Regions from separate parts of the Homo sapiens genome. Here all the other regions are linked to region 4. The links are contacts of gene promoters, found by promoter capture Hi-C in human tissues and cell types (Jung and others, 2019). All regions are on one chromosome and are shown on one strand. Each heading gives the region's core, a stretch centred on a gene start or on the middle of the fragment in contact. The rest is flanking DNA. Distances are from core to core; before and after follow the strand shown. Region 1 overlaps TSC1 (TSC complex subunit 1). Region 2 has its middle 37 kb from the start of RAPGEF1. Region 3 holds the start of TSC1 (TSC complex subunit 1). Region 4 holds the start of TTF1 (transcription termination factor 1).

What was found. Contacts are between HindIII fragments. The study calls those that stand out against the background at their distance.
Region 1: a contact is called between a fragment that was not itself captured here and the fragment with the promoter of TTF1 in region 4, in 1 of the 25 tissues and cell types used here (mesenchymal stem cells).
Region 2: a contact is called between a fragment that was not itself captured here and the fragment with the promoter of TTF1 in region 4, in 2 of the 25 tissues and cell types used here (lymphoblastoid cells and mesenchymal stem cells).
Region 3: the fragment with the promoter of TSC1 here is called in contact with the fragment with the promoter of TTF1 in region 4 in 1 of the 25 tissues and cell types used here (lymphoblastoid cells).

What each region holds. Positions count from the first base shown.
Region 1 is chr9:132,925,540-132,928,583 of GRCh38, reverse strand. It overlaps TSC1 (TSC complex subunit 1), which reads left to right. Exons shown (of 23, transcript NM_000368.5): 4 at 1,280-1,383; 5 at 2,845-2,997. Among named protein-coding and RNA genes, the nearest start is that of TSC1, 18 kb to the left of the region's middle. The HindIII fragment of the contact is 3,992 bases long and covers 1-3,044 here.
Region 2 is chr9:131,775,614-131,778,984 of GRCh38, reverse strand. No RefSeq gene overlaps it. Among named protein-coding and RNA genes, the nearest start is that of RAPGEF1, 37 kb to the right of the region's middle. The HindIII fragment of the contact is 5,957 bases long and covers 1-3,371 here.
Region 3 is chr9:132,942,935-132,945,865 of GRCh38, reverse strand. TSC1 (TSC complex subunit 1) reads left to right here and starts at 1,250. Exons shown (of 23, transcript NM_000368.5): 1 at 1,250-1,323. MIR548AW (microRNA 548aw) reads right to left here and starts at 159; the gene lies at 95-159. It also overlaps a transcript of GFI1B not described here. RefSeq lists enhancers at 533-672, 1,033-1,332, 645-1,378 and silencers at 853-932, 1,463-1,522, 1,583-1,642. The HindIII fragment of the contact is 11,354 bases long and covers 1-2,931 here.
Region 4 is chr9:132,405,228-132,408,438 of GRCh38, reverse strand. It overlaps TTF1 (transcription termination factor 1), which reads left to right and starts at 1,599. Exons shown (of 11, transcript NM_007344.4): 1 at 1,599-1,649. The HindIII fragment of the contact is 7,318 bases long and covers 542-3,211 here.

The DNA.
Region 1 (3,044 bases), core at 545-3,044, 520 kb before region 4:
GAAGTAAGAATCATGCAGTGAACCCCATGAATCCAGTTTCAAATTCTTTCCTCCCTGACTCTCCCACCCTCCAAATATTTTAAAGCAAATTCCAGATGTTGCTTTAACTGTAAATCATATATGTGGTTTTTAATATGAAAAGTGCTTAACCTCTTTTTAATATGAGAAATACAAATTTAAATAGTACCCTTTTTTGCTTACCAGGTTGGCAAAATTAAATATTGAATATAGAAATGGGCACTGTTAGCAGGAATATGAATTGATGTTCAGCCTTTTGGAGCATCAGTCATCAATTTTAAAACACATACCATTTGGGCCATTTATAAGAATCTGTATCTTATTACAGCTTTGAGTGAAATACAGTGAAGAATTGGAAAAACCCAAGTATCCTTCAGTAGGTGAATGGTTAAATTAGTTATGTAGAGCCATGCAGTGGAACACTAGGAGGACGGAAAGAAATGAAATAGGCCATAGATGCTGACGTGGGAAGGTGGTTACAACATACTGTTCAGTGGAAAAAACACACACATGCACAAACTGTGTCTGTGTCTGTGGACATGAGGGCTGTGTGCGTGTGGTTATACAAGTAGAAAAGGGTTTGAAGAGACACACTCTAAACTTAAGGGTGTTTATCTGTGAAGAGTGGGTTGGGAGGCAGGTGGTGAGGAGCACTTTCATTTTTATTTTATGTACTTTTACATAGCCTGAATGTTTAACAGTAGATATGGATTATTTTTTGTAATTAAAAAAGCAATAAAGGGCCAGGTGTGGCGGCTCACGCCTGTAATCCCAGCACTTGGGGAGGCCGAGGCGGGCGGATCACAAGGTCAGGAGATTGAGACCATGTTGGCCAATGTGGTGAAACCCCATCTCTAGTAAAAATACAAAAATTAGCCAGGCGTGGTGGCAGGTGCCTGTAATCCCAGCTAGCTACTTGGGAGGCTGAGGCACGAGAATTGCTTGAACCCAGGAGGCAGAGGTTGCAGTGAGCTGAGATTGTGCCACTGCACTCCAGCCTGGCAACAGAGTGAGACTCCATCTCAAAAAAAAAAAAAAAAAAAAGGCAATAAAAATGACTTCATATGTTTTTATGCATATTTAGGCAAATAAGCTTGGAATATCTTATTATTAAATTAAGAAGGCAGAACTGTAATGCTGCACAAAACTTAGAATAGCATATAAAGAAACATTTTCTGGATTTTGTGACAGGAAGCTGTGTAAGGTAAATTTAGGATGTTAAGGGGAATAAGTATCATCCATTGCCCTTTTCTTGATTTAGACCGTGGCCCTATGCTTGTAAACACCTTGGTGGATTATTACCTGGAAACCAGCTCTCAGCCGGCATTGCACATCCTGACCACCTTGCAAGAGCCACATGACAAGGTAATGGCTGAAATATCATAGGCATTTCATATGTTCTTCATGAGTACAACAGCTTCTGTGCACGGCCACTGTGCAACTTGTCCTGAGCTTATTCTTTTGATTTCTGTGCGCCACTGATGACATTGTTCCCAGTTTATAACTACATATAAAAATTACTTTGTAGGACCCATGATTCTTGAAAAGTTTACAAAATAAAACATATTTCAGAGACTGTTAAAGATCTTGTTTGGGCCGGGTGTGGTGGCTCACGCCTGTAATCCCCTTAGGAGGCCGAGGCGGGTGGATTGCCTGAGGTCACGAGTTTGAGACCAGCCTGGCCAACACAGTGAAACCCCGTCTCTACTAAAAAATACAAAAAATTAGCTGGGCGTGGTGGTGGACACCTATAATCTCAGCTACTCAGGAAGCTGAGGCAGGAGAATCGCTTGAACCTGGGAGGCGGAGGTTGCAGTGACCTGAGATTGCACCATTGCACTCCAGGGCAACAAGAGTGAAACTGTCTCAAAAAAAAAAAAGATCTTGTTTAAAGAAATCTTACATTTCCAGTACTATAATTGTATAGTGATGATTTGGCCCATAGGTACCCATCTTTCAACCCATACTTTGAATAGAATTTTTAGACTTTTATCGATATGGAAAAGCTTCAAGTACAAAGGACTAACATGACAAATTAATGAGTCTTGTTTCCTAGCACCCGGCACTTGGAGGGCTCCTTCATGTTTTCCTTTTGTTTTTAGTAAGTAGCTAATAAAGCATTGTTATTGCAGACTTTGGTAAGTCTTAAGTGTATATATGAGAGCAACTTCCCCAGGATTTGAAGACCTTGTATTGCATGCCTTTTACAGTACATCTTGTTTTGTTTTGTTTTCTAAAGAGGTGAGGTCTCATTGTGTTCCCTAGACTGGAGCGTGGTGGCACAATCATAGCTCACTGTAACCTTGAACTCCTGGCCTCAAGCTATCCTCCTGCCTCAGCCTCCCAAAGTGCAGGGATTGCCGGCATGAGCCACTGCGCCTGGCCCGTCTTGTTTTTTTGTTTACTCTGGTCTGAAATGTAACTTCTACTACCTAATTGATACTTGAGGCCAAACCATGTAGGCTGGGTTGCTCTAGCAATAAGTGGCTGCTTCCAGCAGGATCCCCTCATGGCTTCAGTAACCTATCACAGTTTGGGACTGTTGGTTATTGAGGGGCTGTGAACAAGTCTCCCCCTTTCTGCATGCGTGTATTGTAGGGTCCTTTTTCATGAGCTGCAAACTGGCTGCCTTTTGTCAGGCCAAATGCAGCAGTGTTTTGTTTGCTAACGTGGTTTTTAAAATCTTGAATTTGACCTTTTATCTGCATGACCCTTGCTTTACATTAGAGACAAGACTTGAGAGATTGGAGCACATCATTGCTGTCTTTATTTGTGTTAACTTCATACATTCATGTGAGGACTGCCCTTGTTCTTTTACATTTTCAGCACCTCTTGGACAGGATTAACGAATATGTGGGCAAAGCCGCCACTCGTTTATCCATCCTCTCGTTACTGGGTCATGTCATAAGACTGCAGCCATCTTGGAAGCATAAGCTCTCTCAAGCACCTCTTTTGCCTTCTTTACTAAAATGTCTCAAGGTAGGATGTTTGTAAGGATTTGAATGAAATGGTTTTATGAGTATAGT
Region 2 (3,371 bases), core at 808-3,307, 630 kb after region 4:
TCTCTTTCTGACCTCTGCTTCCATTGTCACACCTCCTTCTCTGGCTCTGACCTTTGTGATTCCATCGGGCTCACTCAGATAATCCAGGATCATCTCCCCACCTCAAAACCCTTGATTTAATCACATCTGCAAAGTCTCTTTTGCCACGTCAGGGAACACATTCGAAGATTCCAGGGATTAGGACAGGAACATCTTGGTGGGGAGCATAGTTTTGTCTCCCACAGCTGTCTTCCCTGCAAAGACTACACTTGTCACCAGTGAGTGGAGAGGGGTGGGAAAAAACCAATGACAGAAGGTTCCATAAGAAAGCTCAGACTTCACTGAGAGGCCATGAGAAGCCCATGAAGGAAGCAAATCCCCCTTTCGCTCCCTAGGAGCAGCTCAGGGAAAGCTGGGGCAGAGGCACTGACACCCAATCAGGCTGACCTCATGCCAGTGTCAGGGTGAGGCCCTTTTTTTTTTTTTTTTCTGAGAAGGAATCTTACTCTGTCACCCAGGCTGGAGTGCAGTGGTATAATCTGAGCTCACTGAAACCTCTGCCTCCCAGGTTCAAGCGATCCTCCTGCCTCAGCCTCCCAAGTAGCTGGGATTACAGGCATGCACTACCACGCCAGGCTAATTTTTGTATTTTTAGCAGAGATGGGATTTCTCTATGTTAGCTAGGCTGGTCTTGACCCCCTGACCTCAAATGAGCTACCTGCCTCAGCCTACCAAAGTGCTGGGATTACAGGCACGTACCACTTTGCCTGGCCCCTTTGTCATCTTTTATCCCCTACCAGCCTAATAAGGTCACTCCCTGGGAAGGAGTGCTGGGATCTAGAACCCAGCATTCCCTGTTTGAACAGGCATCCCTGCATGAGGTCTAGGGAGCTGACACACTGCATCTATGTCTAGCTTCATGGCCCTGGAGAGCTGCAAGAACTCCAGGGGCAGCGGGCACCCAGCTGCCCCTCAAGCTGCTGAGCCTATCAGAAGGACACTGCACTGTTTCCTCCATTCACTCCTTCACCCAAGATAAGTTGATCAGGCAACTACTCTGGGGCAGGCCCTGTGCCAGGCACTCAGATGCAGCTGGAAAAGAGGCAGATGGGGCCCATGCCCTTGTAGGACTGGTGGTTTGGCAAGAGTTAGGTGTTAAGCACATAATCATTTAATTGCAGATGTGAAAAGTGTTCAGACAACATGGCATCTTTGAGAAAAGAGAGGCCTCATATGGTGCATTTTCTTTCCTTTTCTTGAGACACGGTCTTGTTTTTTACCCAAGCTGGAGTGCAGTGGCACGAACACAGCTCACAGCAGCCTCAACCTCTGGGGTGCAAGGGATCCTCTGGCTTCAGCCTCCACAAGTAGCTGGCACCATCACACTCCACTAATTTTTGTATTTTTTGTAGAGACGAGGTTTCACCTTGTTGCCCAGGCTGGTCTCAAACTTCTGGGCTCAAGCAATTCTCCTGCCTTGGCCTCCCAAAATGCTGAGACTACAGGTGTGAGCCACTGTGCCCTGGCGTATGGTGCATTTTCTAGATAACTGAAGGTACCTCCTTGAAGGAATGAAATATAAGTGGCTGGAAGAGGAAGAAGAGGGAGAAAATCAAGTCTCTCTGAAATGCACCGCTTATGTTCTCAGTTATCAGTTTCATGGTGCAGCCTTTGACCTGATGCATTCCTGCTCTGGGCTGTGAGGTGCTTCTACTGTTTTGGGCTCTCTCTGTTTTTTTGTGTGTGTGTTGTTGTTGTTGTTGTTTTCTTTTTTCTTCTTCTTTCTTTTTTTTTTTTTTTTTTTTTTTTGAGACGTAGTCTCTCTCTGTCTCCCAGGCTAGAGTGCAGTGGCACAATCTCAGCTCACTGCAACTACCGCCTCCCAGGTTCAAGCAATTTCCCTGCCTCAGCCTCCCAAGCAGCTGGGATTACAGGTGCACATCACCATGCCTGGCTAATTTTTGTATTTTTAGTAGAGAAGGGGTTTCACCATGTTGGACAGGCTGGTCTCGAACCCCTGACTTCAGTTGACTCACCCGCCTCGGCCTCCCAAAGTACTGTGATTATAGGCATGAGCCACTGCGCCTGACCTCTCTGGTTTGGTGTCACATCCCTTTCCTCACAGTCTGACCATTGGTACCACTTCTCCCGGGGGAAGGGACTTGGCTCTCGGAGTGTCACCTCTGCTGTTCTGCTACTGCACATCCTATGACTGGTCACCAGAAGGCCAGGTGGGAAACGTGTGCAGTCCCTCCCCTCTGGGGTGGGGACTCCAGGCCCAAGCTTCACCATGAACCCAGGCCTGGAGTCTCTCAGAGCCTGGGAGCTGTCCAGGGTCCTGCACCGCTTGAGGCCTGAGGTTCACATCCCGGCCTGCCCAATGGTGGATTGTGAGGCCCTGGGCAAGTCCTACCCTATTTCCGAGCCCCAGGCTCCCCGTCTGAAAGATGGGCAGGACAGATCAGATGGTCTCCAGGGCTCCTGCTGGCTGCCTTCTTAGATCCTTTATATCCCAAAAGGATTGTCATGGGTCTTGGGCTCTTTTCTGGACTGGACAGACGACACTTGAAGGACAGGGGGTCAGCACCAAGTACAGATCTGGGCAGAGTGGATGTCCCACAAAAATATTGGCATAAAGAGCCAGCAAGCCTGCTGCAGGGAGTGAGGGCCTCGCTGACATTCTCAAATGATGCCCGTGGTAGGGCTGGCACAGACCCAGTGGCTGAGGCCCAAGGCTGCAGGCTCCCCACAGGGATGTGCCATCCTGCCACTCCATGGGGAACTGCAGGCATTCTGTCCTTGTTCAGGGAGGGGAGGGAGCTGGGGCTGGCCTGGGACACCAGGAATGGCTCCTTTGCTGAATTCTTATGAGGCCCCCACGGCTGGGTGTTCTCATCTCTCAGGAGGTGGGCTGGGTGGGGCAGCCTTCAGACTTGCACTTGGGAATCTACCATCCCTGGGTTCAAGTTCCACTCTCTCTCTTGCTAACCAGAGGTTAGGTCTTGGGAAAGTGGCATAGCCTCCTGTAGCCTCCACTTTCTCAACCGCACAAAGGACACCCACTTCATGGGCTCATTGTGGTGCTAACAGATAATAGGACCCAGTGAAGTGCATACCATGCAGTAAGCATCCAACATGTAAGTGGTGGGTGTTAAAATTATTCAACTGATCAGTTAGTCTACTGGTTTCAAGGCTGGTCTTGGGGAATCCCCTTCTGAGAAGCAGGGAAGGGGCAGTGGACCTAATGGTCTCTCAAGTCCCTTTCAAGCTCACACTCTGTGACCTACATGAGCTGTTGCCCTCCTGTCACTCCTCCTTCTAGCCCTAGGCTGTGGCCCTCCAGAAGGCCAGGGTCACTCTGCCTCTGGTTGCCCAGCAAACAGAAAGTCCTC
Region 3 (2,931 bases), core at 1-2,500, 540 kb before region 4:
CTCACCCAACACTTTTTTGCCCCTAGGCTCTTGCTCCTTTGGTTCCCTCTGCCTGGAATGGCCTTCTCTCCCGAGCCGCCTCGCCTGGTTCTATTAGGTTGATGCAAAAGTCATCGCGGTTTTAATGGTAAAAACCGTGATGACTTTTGCACCGACCTAGTATTTCACAAAACCTACATTTCCTTTAAAACCCAACCTGATGCCTACTCCTTCAAAATGCCTTTCATATCCCACAGTTCGACTTCATCTCACTCTGCCTCCTCTCACAGGGCTTTGTGTTCGTGCTGGATGGAGCCCATCATACTCAGCCTCGCAATAAAGGCCACCTATCTAGTGAGTGAGCATTTACTAGGCGCAGGACTCTGGGCTAAACGCTGTCCATACTTCATCTCCTTGATTCTTCACGTCACAGATGTCATTATGCCCATTTCACAGAGGAAGAAACTGAGGCTTGGAGGACTTAAAGCCTTGTTTCAGCAGGAAACGGAATAAGGCGTTCTGATTTTCAAGCTGTCTCCTATTAGGGCTGGTTTCCCCTAGATGTCATGAGTAGGTGTGAAGTGTGAGCTACTTGAAGGCAGAAGCCAGGGGGGTCCCCCGCAATCCCGGAGGCGGGCTTCTGAAAATGTTTAGCCCAGGAAGGAGGGCTGCCCTGGCCCGCAGCTTTCCGCCCCTTCCCAGGTGAGCTGCAACTCCAAAGCTCCCAAGCAGGCCCTTCACCCACGCGGGCCCCAGCAGCTCCTTGGGAAACAGGATCGCTGCTCTGAGGCCGCCCACAGAGAGACCCTCGGAGGGCGCCACGCAAGCGAAGGGCAGAAACGACTCGGGGGGCAGGGGCAGGGCGCTCCAACCACACCCAGGCGCCGCCAGCTTGTTTACGCCTCTCCGCCGCGTCCCCCCGCCCGCCAGTCACGTGACCGCCCGCCCCGCCCCCTCGGGCTCTCGCGTGGCTCCTCCCGCCGCGCCGGCCCTTCTTTTTGCCTCCTTCGCGGAGTCACAAGATCTCTTCGCAGCCTCCTTTCGGATCCTTCCGCCCGGCCCCGCCCCCCTCCATAAAAACCCTCCTTACTTTTTTTCTCGTCCAACCCACATCGTCAGTTATGAGTGGAAGAGCCTCTTCCTTCCGGCGGGGCTGCCGAGCGCGGCCGTCTATCCTTCCTTTCGAGAAGGAGGGGAGGTCCGGAGGGGGACTCTTTTTCGTGGCGGAGGCCGCCGTCGGCCTTGGCCCTTTCACGACGGGGGAGGTGCTGTACGTCCAAGATGGCGGCGCCCTGTAGGCTGGAGGGACTGTGAGGTAAACAGCTGAGGGGGAGGAGACGGTGGGTGAGTATGGGGGTGTCTCCCCCTCCTTTTTATGGGGGCTTCCTGGGGCAGCCCCGGCACCATGACTCCAGCCGGGGAGGCTCGGAGGGGCTGGAGCAAGAGACTCACTTGCTTGGTAGGGATCCCGGGGAAGGGGGGTTCGGAGAGCTCTCCCCTCCCTCTTATTACACGCTATCTCCGGCTGGCCCGGCCGGGACTGGCGGGTCCCTGGGGAGGAGAGGCGAGCCGGACGGAGCACTTCGCCCCTCCTTGGCCCCCGAGGGGACGGCTGCACCCTGGGCCTCGGTCCCTCGGGCAGGGGCGAGGTGGGCCCCTTCGTCAGTCCCTCACTTGGTGGGGTGACAGGTTCACGCTAGGTGCGGAGGGCAGGGTAGAGACGCTTGGCGGGAGGGGAAGGGTCGCGAGGGTGGGGCTGGTCCCAGAACTTAAAGAGAGGGGTCGGGGTATAGGGGCGTGGAGAATGAATGGAGGTCGCCTGTGGGGATCAAGGACTCGCCTGGATTCGGTGTCTCCGCTGAAATTTGCATGACTCGCTCTGGGTGTACTTGTGGGTGTTTAATTGGTGGTGAAAGACAGTTACCTTAAAGTGGGCAAAGGGGATTCCTAAGAGACAGCTATTTGCAGAGCCCCTCCTAGGCGTTCATTCATTCATTTGAGGAACTGGAGGATGAAGAGCCTGCAATCGGAGGGACCTTGTAGAATTAAAGCTCTTTCTTTGTGTTTCCTGTTAAAGAGTTTTGCTTTGTGTGTTTTGGATGTGTGGTGAGGACTTGGGAGGGGACGCGGTCCTCCTAAGAACAACAGCTAACGTTAATGGAGTGCTCTCTGTGTGCCAGGCACTGTGAAAGTGCTTGGCAGTCATTATCTCCTTTGGTCCTCACGACAAAGAGAAGAGGCAGCCACTGTTAACACCTCCAATCTTCTCAAATGAAGAAACTGAGGCCCGGAGAGAGCAGGGTACTTTGCCTAAGTTCACACCCCAATTGTATCTGAGCCAGGACTGGAACTGCTGGGATCTGACTGACTCCAAAGATATGACTCTTAAATTTATCTGTTATTTGATCAAAGCTGGCCTGTAAGTGATTAAAATTTATCATTTAGCCAAGGTTTATGCACGTGTGTCTGTTTAATGTTGAAGTGGGGGGATGCACTTGGCTTATCCGCCTTAGCTTTTGTTTGGGATGGCAGTGTTGTGCATGTGAACTTGTTAGTCTAAATTAGGCTAAAAAGTATTTGATAGTTTAATAAAACTGATGAGTTTACTGAAGAAAGAAGTCCTGCTAAAATCCTTGCTGGCTTTTTTTTTTTTTTAAATAGAAAGCATACAAATAACACTTCACGTTGCATAGAGTAAGCTATAAAAGTGCTAAAATAGAATAATACTCTTCTGAGATACTTTGATTTATAATTTTGGGATCAACTTGGAGTCATCTGAATTCAAACAGGCCGGCAAAGTGGAGCTGTAAATTTCAGGAAGCATTATAAAACCTAATCTTTGGGGAGCCTTTGATTTACCGAGCAACCACCTGTGATTCTTAAATTGAACATTCCTGAGTAAATCTGGAATATGCAAATGTGAAAACTGATTTAGGGTTGTGTAGGGAAATG
Region 4 (3,211 bases), core at 350-2,849:
TATTTAACCCTAAGTACGTCATCATGTAGCAAGGACATTCCCATGTGTAACTACAATGTCATTATCATGTCCGAAGATTTTAATGTGATACAATAGTGTTTAATATAAAATCCATTGCAAAGTTGAGACTCTGCATTTGAAAAAAAAAAAAAAAAGCTTCCCAGGTGATTGGTGCAGTTGGAGGAGGATTGGAAACCACTATTGGAGTTTTCCTGAATCGATACTGGATGATATCTAATCTCTCCTCTAGTGCCAGCCTTTTGTGGGTTCATTCATGCATCACTAGCACCACAAGGCTCTGGGTAAGTGGGGTCACCACAGAACACGTGACACCAATGACGGACCTGGACTTCAAGGCCTTCCATATCAACAGTGGACAACACCACATTTACAGACTTCTCCAGACGGAGCTCCAACTGCACGTCCACATCCCAGAGCAGCCCTTGCATGGCAACATGAGTACATACATAGGCTCATCGTTTCTCCAACCTGCTTCCCTTCCAGACTTTCACGGAAGCATAGTTTGTGCATTTTTTAATCAAAGCCACTTGGCAGATCACATAGAAGTCAGGTGGAACAGTGAGGGGCAAGATAGTGGAGTAGTAGAAAGAGCATAGGTCTGATTTCTGGCTGGCCCATTTAAGTCACCTTGGACAAGTTACTGTAAACCCAGGTTTCTCATCCACAAGGTGGGGCTAATAATACCTCATTACAAGGATTAAGTGAGAAAACTTGTTGCCTATATCGTATATGTTCACTATCCAAAAAGGTTAAACGTTTGGTTGGTAAATATAATGGCCTCGAATTGATGGCCAGGTTAAAGCTGCCCTTTTGGCTAAGTCTCTTCAGGACTCTGTTGAAATGGGAAGACTGGGATAGATCTCCAAAGCTCCTGCTAACTCTAAACTTCTGAGACTTCATCCAAGCTTAACATCCATCAGCCTCTGCACCAGATAGCCCCTGCAGACCTCTGACTTCCTCTCCCACCCCCTCCCCTGCATTCACATGCATTCACTTAGGCTGGGCGTGTGCGACCTGTCTGTCACCCTGTGGGTTCACTGTGTGGATTCACTCTGTGCTCCAGCTGCTCTGGCCTTGTCCCAGGTCCTCCAGCAACCAAGTTCAGGACTTTTGCACTCACTTCCAGCCTGGAACACTCTTCTGCCTAGATTTTTTGCCTGCCCTTTCCATTTAGAACTCAGTTCAAATGTCACCTCCTCAGTGAGCCCTCTCTTACATCTAAAGTAGCACCCACCGTCCCCTAGTCACTCTCCATCACGTCACCCTGTTTTATTTTCCTTACAAGATAATCTGAAATTATCTTAGTTGATTTGTCATCTGTCTTCCCAAGTTGTTCCTGGAGTTCACCAAAAACTGGAATAAATGGAATGCACGCATGCATTAGTACGTCAATGGAGGGGGATTCTGTCCTACTTTCTTCGTTTCAGGAGCACTCTCTACCCCACCTGACGTCTAAAGGACCCAGAAGGAAAATGGGTAGGCAAATGTGCGCGCCTCCAAGGCCTAGCGGCAGCCGTGTTACCATGGCAGCGTGACGCCGAGGGGGCCGGAAGGCGACGCACTACTACTTCCGCTTCCTCAACAGCAGCACTTCCGGGTTGGGAGAAAGGTGGCGGCGCTTTCGGAGGGTAAGTTGAAAGCGCCTTTGTTGTTTCTGTTTTTCAAAATGCGCGCGTAAAAACTCAGCGTGGGGTGGTGGGTTTCCCCGTCTTCTGGGAGACCCGCCTTTTGGCCTGAGGTCTCCAGGCCGCGGTCTTTGCCCCAGGCCTTATCTCGGGGAAACTGAGGCTTGGGTGTTTTTTTTTTTTTTTTTTAAAGATGGAGTTTTGCTCTTGTCGCCCAGGCTGGAGTGCGGTGGCGCGATCTCGGCTCACTGCAACCTCCGCTTCCTGGGTTCAAGCGATTCTCCTGCCTCAGCCTCCCGAGTAGCTGGGATTATAGGCGCCCGCCACCAAGCCTAGCTAATTTTTGTATTTTTAGTAGAGACAGGGTTTCACCATGTTGGCCAGGCTGGTCTCGAACTCCTGACTTCAGGTGATCCACCCGCCTCGGCCTCTCAAAGTGCTGGGATGACAAGCGTGAGCCACCGCGCCCGGCCGCGGCTTGGGTCTTTGGGAGTGAGAAGATGCAGAATTCACATCTGGTTAGTTCCTCCAGTCTCAGCCCTGGAGCGCCCACCCGGGAGCAGAGCGGGGTCTCTCTCGCACCCCAAAGGCGGTGAGAGAATCCGGGACCAGGTTTGGGCACGTACCTGCAGAGCGGGAAGTGTATGTTCTGAGTAAGGGGGGATAAATGCATATCCGTTCTCAATATGTATCGAGCACTGACTGGGGAGCCATTTGGGAGCAAGATGGCCAGGATTCCAGCCCTCAAGAAGCCGATCATATTATAACTGCCAAAAGTGCAATGGGGAGCAGCTGGTTGTTGGGAAACACTGTTAACCAGAAAGATGAGACCGGCTAAGGAGTTAGAGAGGTCCTCTTGAGAAAGTGGCTTTCATACTTGGACCAGTTAAAGGGCAGAAAGGTAATGCGGAGGAAGAGCTTTCCTGATGGAATGGGCTGTTTTTGCAAAGTTCCTGAGACGAAAAGGAAGGTAGTGTATTCTAGGAACTGAAAACAGCAGGGTTTCTGAAACCTAGAGAGAAGTGAGAGGTAGAGAGGTGGGCATGGACTTACCTCTGTCCATCTCTAGGCTAGATTATGAAGAAATGAAGACTCTTGCAGGTCTGTGAGGATTTTGACTTTATCTTAAGAATAACAGGGGAACCCTAAAAAGTTTTTAGCAGGGAGAGACTATATATTTAGAAGGTTGTACTGGGCTCCAGAGACCAGAGAGCAGCCTAGGAAGTATTTACAAAAAAGAAGGAAAGGAACTGATGGAAGGGGAAATGTTATTTAAAGAAATCAAGGCCGGGCGCTGTGGCTTACGCCTGTAATCCCAGCGCTTTGAGAGGCCGAGGCAGGTGGGTCACCTGAGGTCAGGAGTTCAAGACCAGCCTGGCCAACATGGCGAAACCCCGTCTCTACTAAAAATACAAAGATTAGCCAGGCTTGGTGGCTTGCGCCTGTAATCCCAGCTACTACTCCGGAGGCTGAGGCAGGAGAATCGCTTGAACCCGGGAGGCGGAGGTTGCAGTGAGCCGAGATCGTGCCACTGCACTCCAGCCTGGGTGACAGAACGAGATTCT